Linked DNA regions of Homo sapiens: region 2 is linked to region 1. Evidence: promoter capture Hi-C in human tissues and cell types (Jung and others, 2019). All regions are on one chromosome and are shown on one strand. Each heading gives the region's core, a stretch centred on a gene start or on the middle of the fragment in contact. The rest is flanking DNA. Distances are from core to core; before and after follow the strand shown.

Evidence for each region. Contacts are between HindIII fragments. The study calls those that stand out against the background at their distance.
Region 2: a fragment that was not itself captured here is called in contact with the fragment with the promoter of ESPL1 in region 1 in 2 of the 25 tissues and cell types used here (mesenchymal stem cells and neural progenitor cells).

Annotation. Positions count from the first base shown.
Region 1 is chr12:53,265,522-53,271,081 of GRCh38, reverse strand. It overlaps ESPL1 (extra spindle pole bodies like 1, separase), which reads right to left and starts at 2,783. Exons shown (of 31, transcript NM_012291.5): 1 at 2,705-2,783; 2 at 2,235-2,327; 3 at 997-2,058; 4 at 600-704; 5 at 284-404. The coding sequence starts at 2,315. RefSeq lists enhancers at 2,337-2,416, 2,477-2,846. The HindIII fragment of the contact is 10,197 bases long and covers 1,598-5,560 here.
Region 2 is chr12:53,136,563-53,142,015 of GRCh38, reverse strand. It overlaps the pseudogene RNU6-333P and the pseudogene HIGD1AP1. Among named protein-coding and RNA genes, the nearest start is that of SOAT2, 36 kb to the right of the region's middle. The HindIII fragment of the contact is 5,451 bases long and covers 803-5,453 here.

The sequences.
Region 1 (5,560 bases), core at 1,534-4,033:
AAAAAATATGTTGAAAGGTCATAAGGTTGCATATTAGGTGCAACTGTTAATGCCAAGTTAGATTCCAGTCGAGGAAATAGTGTCTGCTGTTGTAAGTTAGCTTCATCACTTCTCTACTGGTGTTAAACACAGAGTAGCTGGTACTTATAAACATTTCTCTCACTGCCTCCTTGAACCATAAGGAACCCTCACAGTGGTCAGAACCACGCAGCAAGTACTATTCACCTGCCTAATGGGTGATGACCCTCCCACAAACTCTGTGCCTGGGACCCAGGGCACTAACCGGTCATCCCCATGTGGTCCGTCAGCTCTTGGCCCGACAGGCCCTCTAAGGCCTCCAGCATCCAGACAACGGTAGATTTACAACTGTCCACTAGTTGGGTCAGGTCAGCCAAATCAACTATCTGAAGGGACAAGAAGGGTTTGAGAGTGAGGAGTCATGCTGGGTCCAAGATGACCTCCACCGCACTCCACACCCAAAGCCAAGCAACCCCAAAGCTGTTTGAGGGCAGTGGAGCAACCCCAAAGCTGTTTGAGGGCAGTGGAGCAACCCCAAACCCTATGAGCCTAGTCCAGGTACCTTGATTCCCAGACAGTACCTGACAGCCTTGGGCAAAGTCATAAACCACCACAGTGTAGAGGTGAAGTCCCTGAAAGTACATCTGAAGAAAAGACTGCTGTTGCTTGGAGGAGCCCCCATACACCTGAGGAAGGAAGCGGAAGGTTGGTATGAGGAGTAGAGATAAAGAGGGCTCCAAGCTGAAGACTGACCCGGAGTCCTGGAGAGCTGACAGAGCCCAGGGAGCACGAGGAAGGACATCCAGAAGGGCCACTGCCCTCTCAGGATAGACTAGGCTGTTTGCTGGCTCGCTAGGCACTGTCCAGAGAGCAGCTTAACAAGGAGGGAGCCAGGACCTCCAGATCTTGCCAAATACCCTAGGCTGGTAGTGAGTCCACAGACCACGTCCCCACCCTACCTCCAGGTCCTTAACTCACACCATCATCCCGCAGCTGCTGCAGAAGAGAGCAGTACCCTCCAAGAAAAGCAAAGAGGCTCAGAATGGCATCAAGTCTATAGCGCCTCTTGGTGCCTCGTTCCAGGCCTGAAAGGAAGAACTGGCAGCTCTCATACAATGCCCGAAGTGGGGGTGATGGTGCCTCCATACTCTTGCTCAGGACAGCTGATGCCTTGATCAGAAGCTTGGCCACTGCCTGAGGTCCTTCCTCCCCAACCTGCAGCAGCTTAACCCCCAGCTGACATAGCTGAAGGCTAGGGGCTAGATTGGTGTTCCTTAGGTAACTGTGAGCCTTCTCCACTGCGCTGATGGCTTTGTCATGGTGGCGGCTCCAGCAAAAGCGACGGCAGTGTTCCAAGGTGAGCTCCAAGAGGCAGAGGGCCCTCTGGGGAGAAAGAAGCCCAGAAGAGCTCCCTCTCTCACCCACCAAGGCTCTGATCACGTGCCTGGAGAGCAGGTCATCTAGGAAATCAGCATCTGCTTCATTTAGACCATGGCCACTGGCATCAAATAGCTGATGGGCAGCTACCGCTCGACAGGCTGTTGGAGAAGCAAAGTGAGGAACCTCACAAGGGGTACTTTCATCCTCCAAGAGTACTAGGAAGCTCAAGGCCTTCAGCCGAGCTGCAAATGCAGCTCGCCGTTCCAACAGGGCTTCTGCCCCCTTCCAAAGCAGAGAAAAGCTGCCCCGAGCCACGGCCTCATAGTCCTGGGGAGCAGCCTCGCGAGAGCACTGCACCAAGCAGGCATGGAGGGGCTGAGCAAGGCGGAGTGTGGCCTCTGGGCTTCCTTGTGCAGCAGCATTCCGCAGTAAGACAAAGAGAATTCGTTCCAGGTAGAGGGGAGGACGCTGTGGGGTAGACACTAAGTAGCCATCACAGGCCAGCTCTGCCAGCTCCAGCAGGCTCCCCAGATGCCTAGGGCAAGCTAGCTTAGCAGTCAGCTGCTGGTTGCAAGCCCTCAGGATGGCATCACAAGCTTGTCTCCTCTCAGCATCAGATCGGCTGCTGGGAAAACCAGCTGGAGGGTTGGACAGGAACTCCTAGGAGTAGAGAAAGATATGAATGGGGCTAGCAAAGGCAGGAAAGAGGTAGAGAAAGTAACTAGAAATAGGGTTACTCAGAGAGGGTCGCCTACTTATCCATCTCTTCAAAAGGCAAACACAAAACAGCTCAGTTTGGAAAGCCAGGTGTATCCCGAGCCAGGCAGCACCCCCACCTTCAAGGCGGGCAGCAACTCTTCAGCCTCCTTCTGGCTGCTTAGCAGAGTCCCAAAGTTGACTCTTTTGAAGCTCCTCATGACACCGGAGAGCTAGGGAAAAGGAGACCAATTAGAGAAGATTGTTAATGAAGCTAACTGGAGGAAGGGAAGAGGGCTGAAGGTCGTGGAAGGAGGCAAAGAATCACATCAGAAATTTCATCGGGGAGAAAACCCACGCCAGGACGCCGTGCTCCCGTTATAAAAGGACGATTCCGCTCTTCCTTCCTCCGGGCAGATCCCCGACCGCACTACCACACCACTCGCCGCGCTACCCCAGAGGCCTCGGCCCAGCCCTTCAGCGGCCCGGGGCAGTCCCAAGGCCTCCCGACACTCCCTCCAGGAGCCACCCACGCCTCTCCTCGCGTCAGCGCTGGGGATCCCCTTCACTTCAGCACGTACCCACGCTCACGAGTCCCTTCCGGCCTTACCGCCCCAGAGCTCGCCCTCTTTCCTAGGTACAGGACTTAACCGCCTGACCAGTACTCCGCGAGGATCCAAAATGTAACCTTCGTTTTCCGCGCCAGACCCTCCTTTCAAATATCCGCGGCTGCCAATCAGCGGGCGCGGCGCAACGCCGGGCGCGCGGCACGCTGGGAGTTGTAGTTTACCCGCCGCGCTGCGCGCTCCCGCGGCGCCCCGGAGGGTCTTGCTGCTCTGCGCGTTAGGGCCTCTTGGGGGTGCGGGTTTCCCCCTTTTTTCCAGTCAGAGCTCAGTTTCTCAGCTACCTGTCGCTTAGTCGCTATCGGTAATGCCACCCCTTTTCCTCCTTTATCTTCAGAGCTCAGGCAAGAGTTTAAGTTTCAAGAGAAGAGAAATAACAAAAAGAACTTAGGAACTCACGCGGTTTGGGTTACTAGAAAAAAAGGGCTTAGACTTCTACGAATTTTTTTTTTGATAGGGTCTTGCTCTGACACACAGGCTGGAGTGCAGTGGCGTGATCACAGCTCACTGCAGCTTCAAACTCCCGGGCTTAAGTGATCCTCCCACCTCAGCCTCCCAAAGTGCTGACTACGGGCGTGCACCGCCACGCCCAACTTCCTACGAAATTATTTTAAAGATGGTTTTCTAGGGGAACTACAATGAGTACCCGTAGCGACCTCCAGCTCTCTCTCTGCCTTCCAGCCTTACTCCTTCTATTGGTTGTATGAGAAAGACAAGATCTGGTGCTCTTCGATGGGGGAGAGAGGGTAGTGGGGTGGGGTGGGAGTTGTGAGTAGCAGGAAGAACTATGGAAATTCATTCCCTGGGATATTTCACAGTCTTTAATGGCTTATGTTTTTAAGTACTAACCACTTCCCCAAACACAGATTCAGCTGTCTCTTTCCTTCCTCCACCAAAGAATTCAGCTCAAAAGTGGTTATCAGCTTGTCGCTGATGAACTCTACTGGATAACTCATCCTTCTCCATCATCATAGAGCTCTTTTATGAGTTGAGAATCTAGCAGGGAAGATTATTTTTGTAAAAAGAAAGAAAAGAAGGCCGGGCGCGGTGGCTCACGCCTATAATCCCAGCACTTTAGGAGGCCGAGGTGGGTGGATCACTTGAGAACCAGCCTGACCAACATGGTGAAACCCCATCTCTACTAAAAATACAAAAATTAGCTGCTGTGGCATCGGGGGCCTGTAGTCCCAGCTACTTGGGAGGATCGCTTGAACCCGGGAAGCGGAGGTTGCAGTGAGCTGAGATCCCGCCACTGTACTGCAGTCTGGGTGACAGAGCAAGACTCTGTCTCAAAAAAGAAAACCAAAAAAAAGGCCGGGCGCGGTGGCTCACGCCTGTAATCCCAGCACTTTGAGAGACCGAGGCGGGCGGATCACGAGGTCAGGAGATCGAGACAATCCTGGCCAACATGGTGAAACCCCGTCTCTACTAAAAATACAAAAAATTAGCCGGGCGTGGTTGCAGGCTCCTGTAGTCCCAGCTACTCGGGAGGCTGCGCTAGGAGAACGGCGTGAACCCGGGAAGCGGAGCTTGCAGTGAGCCAAGATCGCGCCACTGCACTCCAGCCTGGGCTACAGAGCGAGACGACTCTGTCTCAAAAAAAAAAAAACCAAAAAACAAACAAACAAACAAAAAAAACCCAAAAGAAAATTATTCATCACAGTACTCAATTCCTCTTGCTTACACCTTAGCTATCAGTGTTCATTTACCTATTGTTTAGCAAGCATTCTAGGACTTTTTCCCAACGTATTTTATTATACCTACTTTTTTCTTCTTTTTTTAAGATAGAAACGAGGTCTCACTATGATGCCCAGGTTGGTCTTGAACTCCTGAGCTCAAGTGATCCTCCGGCCTTAGCCTCTCAATGTGCTACAATTACAGGCGTGAGCCACTATGCCCAGCCTTTTTTTTTTTTTTTTTTTGAGACGGAGTTTCGCTCTTGTCACCCAGGCTAGAGTGCAATGGCGTGATCTCAGCTCACTGCAACCTCTGCCTCCGGGTTCAAGTGATTCTCCTGCCTCAGCCTCCCAAGTAGCTGGGATTACAGGCACCCATCACCATGCCCAGCTAATGTTTTGTATTTTTAGTAGGGACGGAGTTTCACCATGTTGGCCAGGCTGGTCTCAAACTCCTGACCTCAAGTGATCCACCTGCCTCAGCCTCCCAAAATGCCGGGATTACAAGCATGAGCCACCGTGCCTGGCCATGCCCAGCCTATCATACCTACTTAATTCTAAACTCCTCAAGGGCAGAGAGCTTATTATTTTTTATTTCTTGTTTGTTTGTTTTTTGTTTTGCTTTTGTTTTCTTTTTTCTTTTTTATTTTCTACTTCTTACAAGAAGTACTTTAAGTATCAACAGATCAATAAATGCTGACTAATACGAACTTGAGTCACATTATTTCCTCATGTGAATCACAAACTTATAGAGGCAGCACAGGATGATGGAAAGAGCTTTGAAAATGAGACAGGACAGAGGAGCCAGGTTCTAGTGCCAGTTCTAATTTGTTCCTTCTCAGTGAAATGGGGACAGTAACATCAAGCCTCACTACCTCCAGGAGTTCTTTTAGCCTCAAATAGAAGAAGGCCTCAGATAGCCTTGAAGACCCTAACGATGATGGCAGTCATTAAAAAACGTGTGGCGCGGTGACTCAGGTCTGTAATCCCAGCACTTTGGGAGACTGAGGCGGGTGGATCACGAGGTCAGAAGATTGAGACCATCCTGGCTAACACAGTGAAACCCCGTCTCTACTAAAAATACAAAAAAATTAGCCGGGCGCAGTGGTGGGCGCCTGTAGTCCCAGCTACTCGGGAGGCTGAGGCAGGAGAATGGCGTGAACCTGG
Region 2 (5,453 bases), core at 2,279-4,778, 130 kb after region 1:
CTCACACACTCCAACCGGCTTCCGATCCCTGCACGCGCACCCAGTCCTCCGGGCTTCTTGCTTTTTTTTTTTTTTTTTCTTTTTTTTTTTTTGAGACAGAGACTCACTGTTGCCCAGGCTGGAGTGCAGTGGTGCAATCTCAGCTGACTGCAAACTCCGTCTCCCGGGTTCACGCCATTCTCCTGCCTCAGCCTCCCGAGTAGCTGGGACTACAGGCGCCCGCCACCACGCCCGGCTAAATTTTTTGTATTTTTTTTTAGTAGAGACAGGGTTTCACCGTGTTAGCCAGAATGGTCTCGATCTCCTGACCTCATGATCCGCCCGCCTCAGCCTCCCAAAGTGCTGGGATTACAGGCGTGAGCCACGCACCCGGCCTTTTTTTTTTTTTTTTTTTTTTTTTTTTGAGACAGAGTCTTGCTCTGTTGCCCAGGCTGGAATGCAGTGGCACAATCTCTGCTCACTGCAACATCCACCTCCCGGGTTCAAGATATTCTCCTGCCTCAGCCTCCTTTGTAGCAGGGATTACAGGCGCCCACCACCATGCCCGGCCAATGTTTGTATTTTTAGTAGAGATGGGGTTTCACCATGTTGGCCAGGCTGGTCTCAAACTCCTGACCTCTGAAAGTGCTGGGATTACAGGCGTGAGCCACCGCGCCCTGCCAGTATGTAGCTTTTAAAATCTTTGTAGCTATCTTATTTAGGAACAAAATGGGAGACAGTTTTGCCTGACCCAGTTCCCAGCTTGACTTTTCCCTTTGGTGTAGTGTGTTGGGTGTCCTAAGATTTATTTTCCTTTCAGAATATTAACAGACTAAAAACTAAAATTTGCATTATCCTCTCAATAGATGCAGAAAAGACATTTAATAAAATCCAATACCCATTCCTGTTTTTTTTTTTTTTTTTTTTGAGACGGAGTCTTGCTCTGTCACCCAGGCTGGAGTGCAGTGTCATGATCTCGGCTCACTGCAACCTCCTGGGTTCAAGTGATTCTCCTGCTTCAGCCTCCCGAGTAGTTGGGATTACAGGTGCGTGCTACCACACCTGGCTGATTTTTGTATTTTTATAGAGATGTGGTTTCACCATGTTGGCCAGGCTGTTCTACAAACTCCTGACGTCAGGTGATCCACCCACCTCGGCCTCCCAAAGTGCTGGGATTACAGGCATGAGCCACTGTGCCCGGCCCCAATATCCATTCCTAATGTAGGTTGAACATCCCTAATGCAAAATCCAAAATCTGAAATGCTCTGACATTTGAAACGTATTTTTTTCTTATCATACCCTGACTGGTCTGAAAATCTGAAACTTTTTGAGTACTGACATGACACTCAAAGGAAATGCTTATTGTAGCATTTCAGAATTTTGATTTTCTGATTAGGGATGCTCATATAAAGTATAATGCAAATATTCCAAAATCCAAAAAAAGTCTGAAATCCAAAACACTTCTGGTCCCAAGCATTTCAGATAAGAAATATTAAACATGTAAAAACATTCAGCTGGCCAGGCAGTGGCTCGCACCTGTAATCCCAGCACTTTGGGAGGCCGAGGTGGAAGGATCACTTAAGACAAGGAGTTCAAGACCAGCCTGGGCAATGTAGTGAGATCTCATCTCTACCAAAAAAATTTTTTTAAATTAACAGTGTGTGGTGGTGTAAGTCTATAGTCCCAGCTACTCTGGGGGCTAAGATGGGACGATTGCTTGAGCCCAGGAGGTCAAGTCTGCAGTGAGCTATTATTGCACTACTGCACTCCAGTCTGGGCAACAGAGCAGCACTCTGTCTCAAACAAAACAAAACAAAACAAAGCAAAACAAAACAAAACAAAAAAGCAAAATTCAGCTGACTAGGAATAGAAAGTGTGAAGAATTTGGCCTTGCCCAAGGAAAGGCCTGGCCATTGTCCCTGGCTCCTGAGAGGTAGCCTCTAAACCCATGGAATTCCCCAAGTGGTAAGAATATTTCTCAAGCTGGGCACTGTGGTGTGCACCCAGCTACTCAGGATGCTGAGGTGGGAGGATCACTTGAGCCCAGAAGTTTGAGGCTGCAGTAAACTCTGATCACACCACTGCACTCCAGCCTGAGTAACAGACTGAGACCCTGTCTCTTAATAAAAAGTTTATTTCTTTGTTATTCAAGTGGGCCCCTAAGATTACATCTGATAGTTTATGCTAATGAGGTGACTCATGATGGGCTCCTTGATGGATCTCACCATGATACTGGCCTAACTTCCAGGGATAGGGGAGGGAGATGGGAGACTGAGTTCAACCACCATCATGCCTGTATAATGAAAACTCCAATAAAAACTCTGGACACTGAAGTTAGGACGAGCTTCCTGGATTTGCAACACTCTGTGTGCACTTTCACACATCGATGCTGAGAGGATAACATCTCCTGATGACAATGAAAGCTTTGCATTTGGAATCCTCCTAGACTCTGCTCTATGTGCCCCTTCCCATGGCTGATTTTAGAGTATCCTTTCTCTGGAATAAACTGTGACCTTGAGAATAATAGCTAGCTTTCACTGAGTTCTGTCACTTCTTTTTTTTTGAGATGGAGTCACACTCTGTCGCCCAGGCTGGAGTGCAATGGCACGATCGATCTCGGCTCACTGCTTCACCTCCCAGGTTCAAGCAATTCTCCTGCCTCAGCCTCCCAAGTAGCTGGGACTACAGGCATGCGCCACCATACCTGGCTAATTTTTGTATTTTTAGTAGAGATGGGATTTCACCATGTTGGCCAGGCTGGTCTCGAACTCCTGAAGAAGAAAAATCTAAAACCTCCTCGGCCTCCTAAAGTGCTGGGATTACAGGCATGAGCCACCACATCTAGCCTGAGTTCTGTCACTTCCTCAGTGAATTGTTCGACCGGAGGGTGGTTTTGGGAAAACCCCAAACTTGAAGCTAATATCAGAAGTAAGGACAGTATTGTGGAGGACTGGGTTCTTAGACCTTGCAGTTTGGCTGACTTGGGGGGTAGAAGGCAACTTTCTCAACCTCATGGGAGCATATACAAAAAAAAAAAAAAATCTACAACTGTAAACACCTATATTTGAAAAGTAGAGAGATCTCAAATCAATTAACTAAACTTCTACCCTAAGACACTGGAAAAAGAGCAAACTAAACCTAAAGCAAGAAGAATGAAGGAAATAACGTATATTAGAGTTTAAATTAATGAAACAGGCAACAGAAAAACACTAAAGAAAATCAACAAAATGAATAGTTGGTCCTTTGAAAAGATCAACAAGGCTAGACTGATTAAGAAAAAAACAGAGAAAGGCTGGGTATGGTGGCTCACATCTGTAATCCCAGTCCTCTGGGAGGCCAAGGTGGGAAGATCACTTGAGGCCAGGAGTTCAAGACCAGCCTCAGTGTGCTCTCTTTGGCAGCACATATACTAAAATTGGAACAATACAGAGAAGATTAGCATGGCCCCTGCACAAGGATGATGTGCAAATTTTTGAAGTGTTCCATATTTTTAAAAATTTTTAAATTAAGAAAATATATGTAAATATATCTAAATTATAAAATTTAAAATATATATACCTATAAAAAAGTATATGTATATATATTTCATGACATTTATATATATGTATAATAACATATATATATATATTTGGGAGGCCAAGGCAGGTGGATCACTTGAGGTCAGGAGTTTGAGACCAGCCTGGCCAACATGGTGAAACACTGTCTCTACTAAAAATACAAAAAAAAAAAATTTAGTCGGATGTGGTGACACCTGCTTGCAATCCCAGCTATTCTGGAGGCTGAGGTGGGAAGATCACTTGAACCTGGGAGGTGGAGGTTGTGGAGGTTGCAGTGAGCCAAGATCGCATCACTGCTCTCCAGCCTGGATGACAGAGTGAAACTCTGTCTCAAAAAAAAAAAAAAAAAAAAAAAAAAAAAAAAATATATATATATATATTTATATATATTTATATATCTATATCTATCTATCTATCTATCTATCTATCTATCTATCTATATATAGAGAGACCCCATCGCTCCAAAAAAATGAAAAATAAAAAAAATTAGCCAGTTATGATGACATGTACCTGTAGTCCTAGCTACCTGGGAGGCTGAGGCAGGAGGATTGCTTGAGCCCAGGAGTTCAAAGTTACAGTGAGCTACAATCACACTACCGCACTCCAGCCTGGGTGACTGAGTGAGATCCTGTCTCTCTAAAACAAGAACAGAAACAAAAAATGGAGAAGATTCAAATTAACTAAACTCAGGAATGAAAGAGGGAGCATTACTACTGACCTTTCAAAAATAAGGAAGGTTATAAGGGTATACTATAAATGACTATGCCAACAAATTAGATACCTTAGATGAAATAGACAAATACCTAGAAAATCACAAACTACTGAAATTGATTCAAGAAGAAATATAAATTCTGAATAGACCTATAATAAAAAGAGAAAGAGTAATTGGATAAGTAATCTAAAAGCATTTCACAAAGAAAAGTGAAGGCTTTAATGGTGAATTTTACAAAACATTAAAGACTTAACACCAATTCTTCACAAATTCTTCCAAATAACAGAAGAGAGAATACTTCTAAACTCATCCTATGAGGGCAGTATTAATCCTGATACCAAAACAATACAAAAACATCAGAAGAAAATTATATACCAATATGTCTTATGAATTTAGATGCAAAAATCCTGAACTAGCCAACCAAATTCAGCAACATATAAAAAGGGTTGGCCAGGCACAGTGGCTTACACCTGTAATCTTAGCACTTTGGGAGGCCGAGGCAGGCGGATCATGAGGTCAAGAGATTGAGACCATCATGGCTAACACGGTGAAACCCTGTCTCTACTAAAAATACAAAAATTAGCTGGACATGGTGGCATGCACCTGTACTCCCAGCTACTAGGGAGGCTGAGGCAGGAGAATAGCTTGACCCAGGAGGCGGAGATTGCAGTGAGCCAAGATCGTGCCACCATACACCAGCCTGGCAACAGAGTGAGAGTCTGTCTCAAAAAAAAAAAAAAGAGTTATATACCATGACAAAGTAGGATTTGTATCAGAAATGCAAGGTTGGTTTGACATCCAAAATCAATTAATGTATTATGCCATATCAATAGAACAGAGGACAAAACCCACATTTCAATGTGGTCTGTTGATGACCTCAATACACACAGCTTGGCTGGGATGGTGAAACCCTGTCTCTACTAAAAATACAAAAAAAAAAAAAAATTAGCTGGGCATGGTGACGGGCACCTGTAATCCCAGCTACTTGGGAGGCTGAGGCAGGAGAATCACTTGAACCCAGGAGGTGGAGGTTGCAGTGAGCTGAGATCGCGCCACTGCACTCCAACCTGAGCGACAGAGTGAGACTCTATCTCAAAAATAAAAAAAAAAGAAAAGAAAAAAAAAACCTCAACAAACTAGATATAGAAGGGGATTTTTCTCAACCTGATAAAGGGTAGCTACAAAAACCCTCTGCTAATGTCACA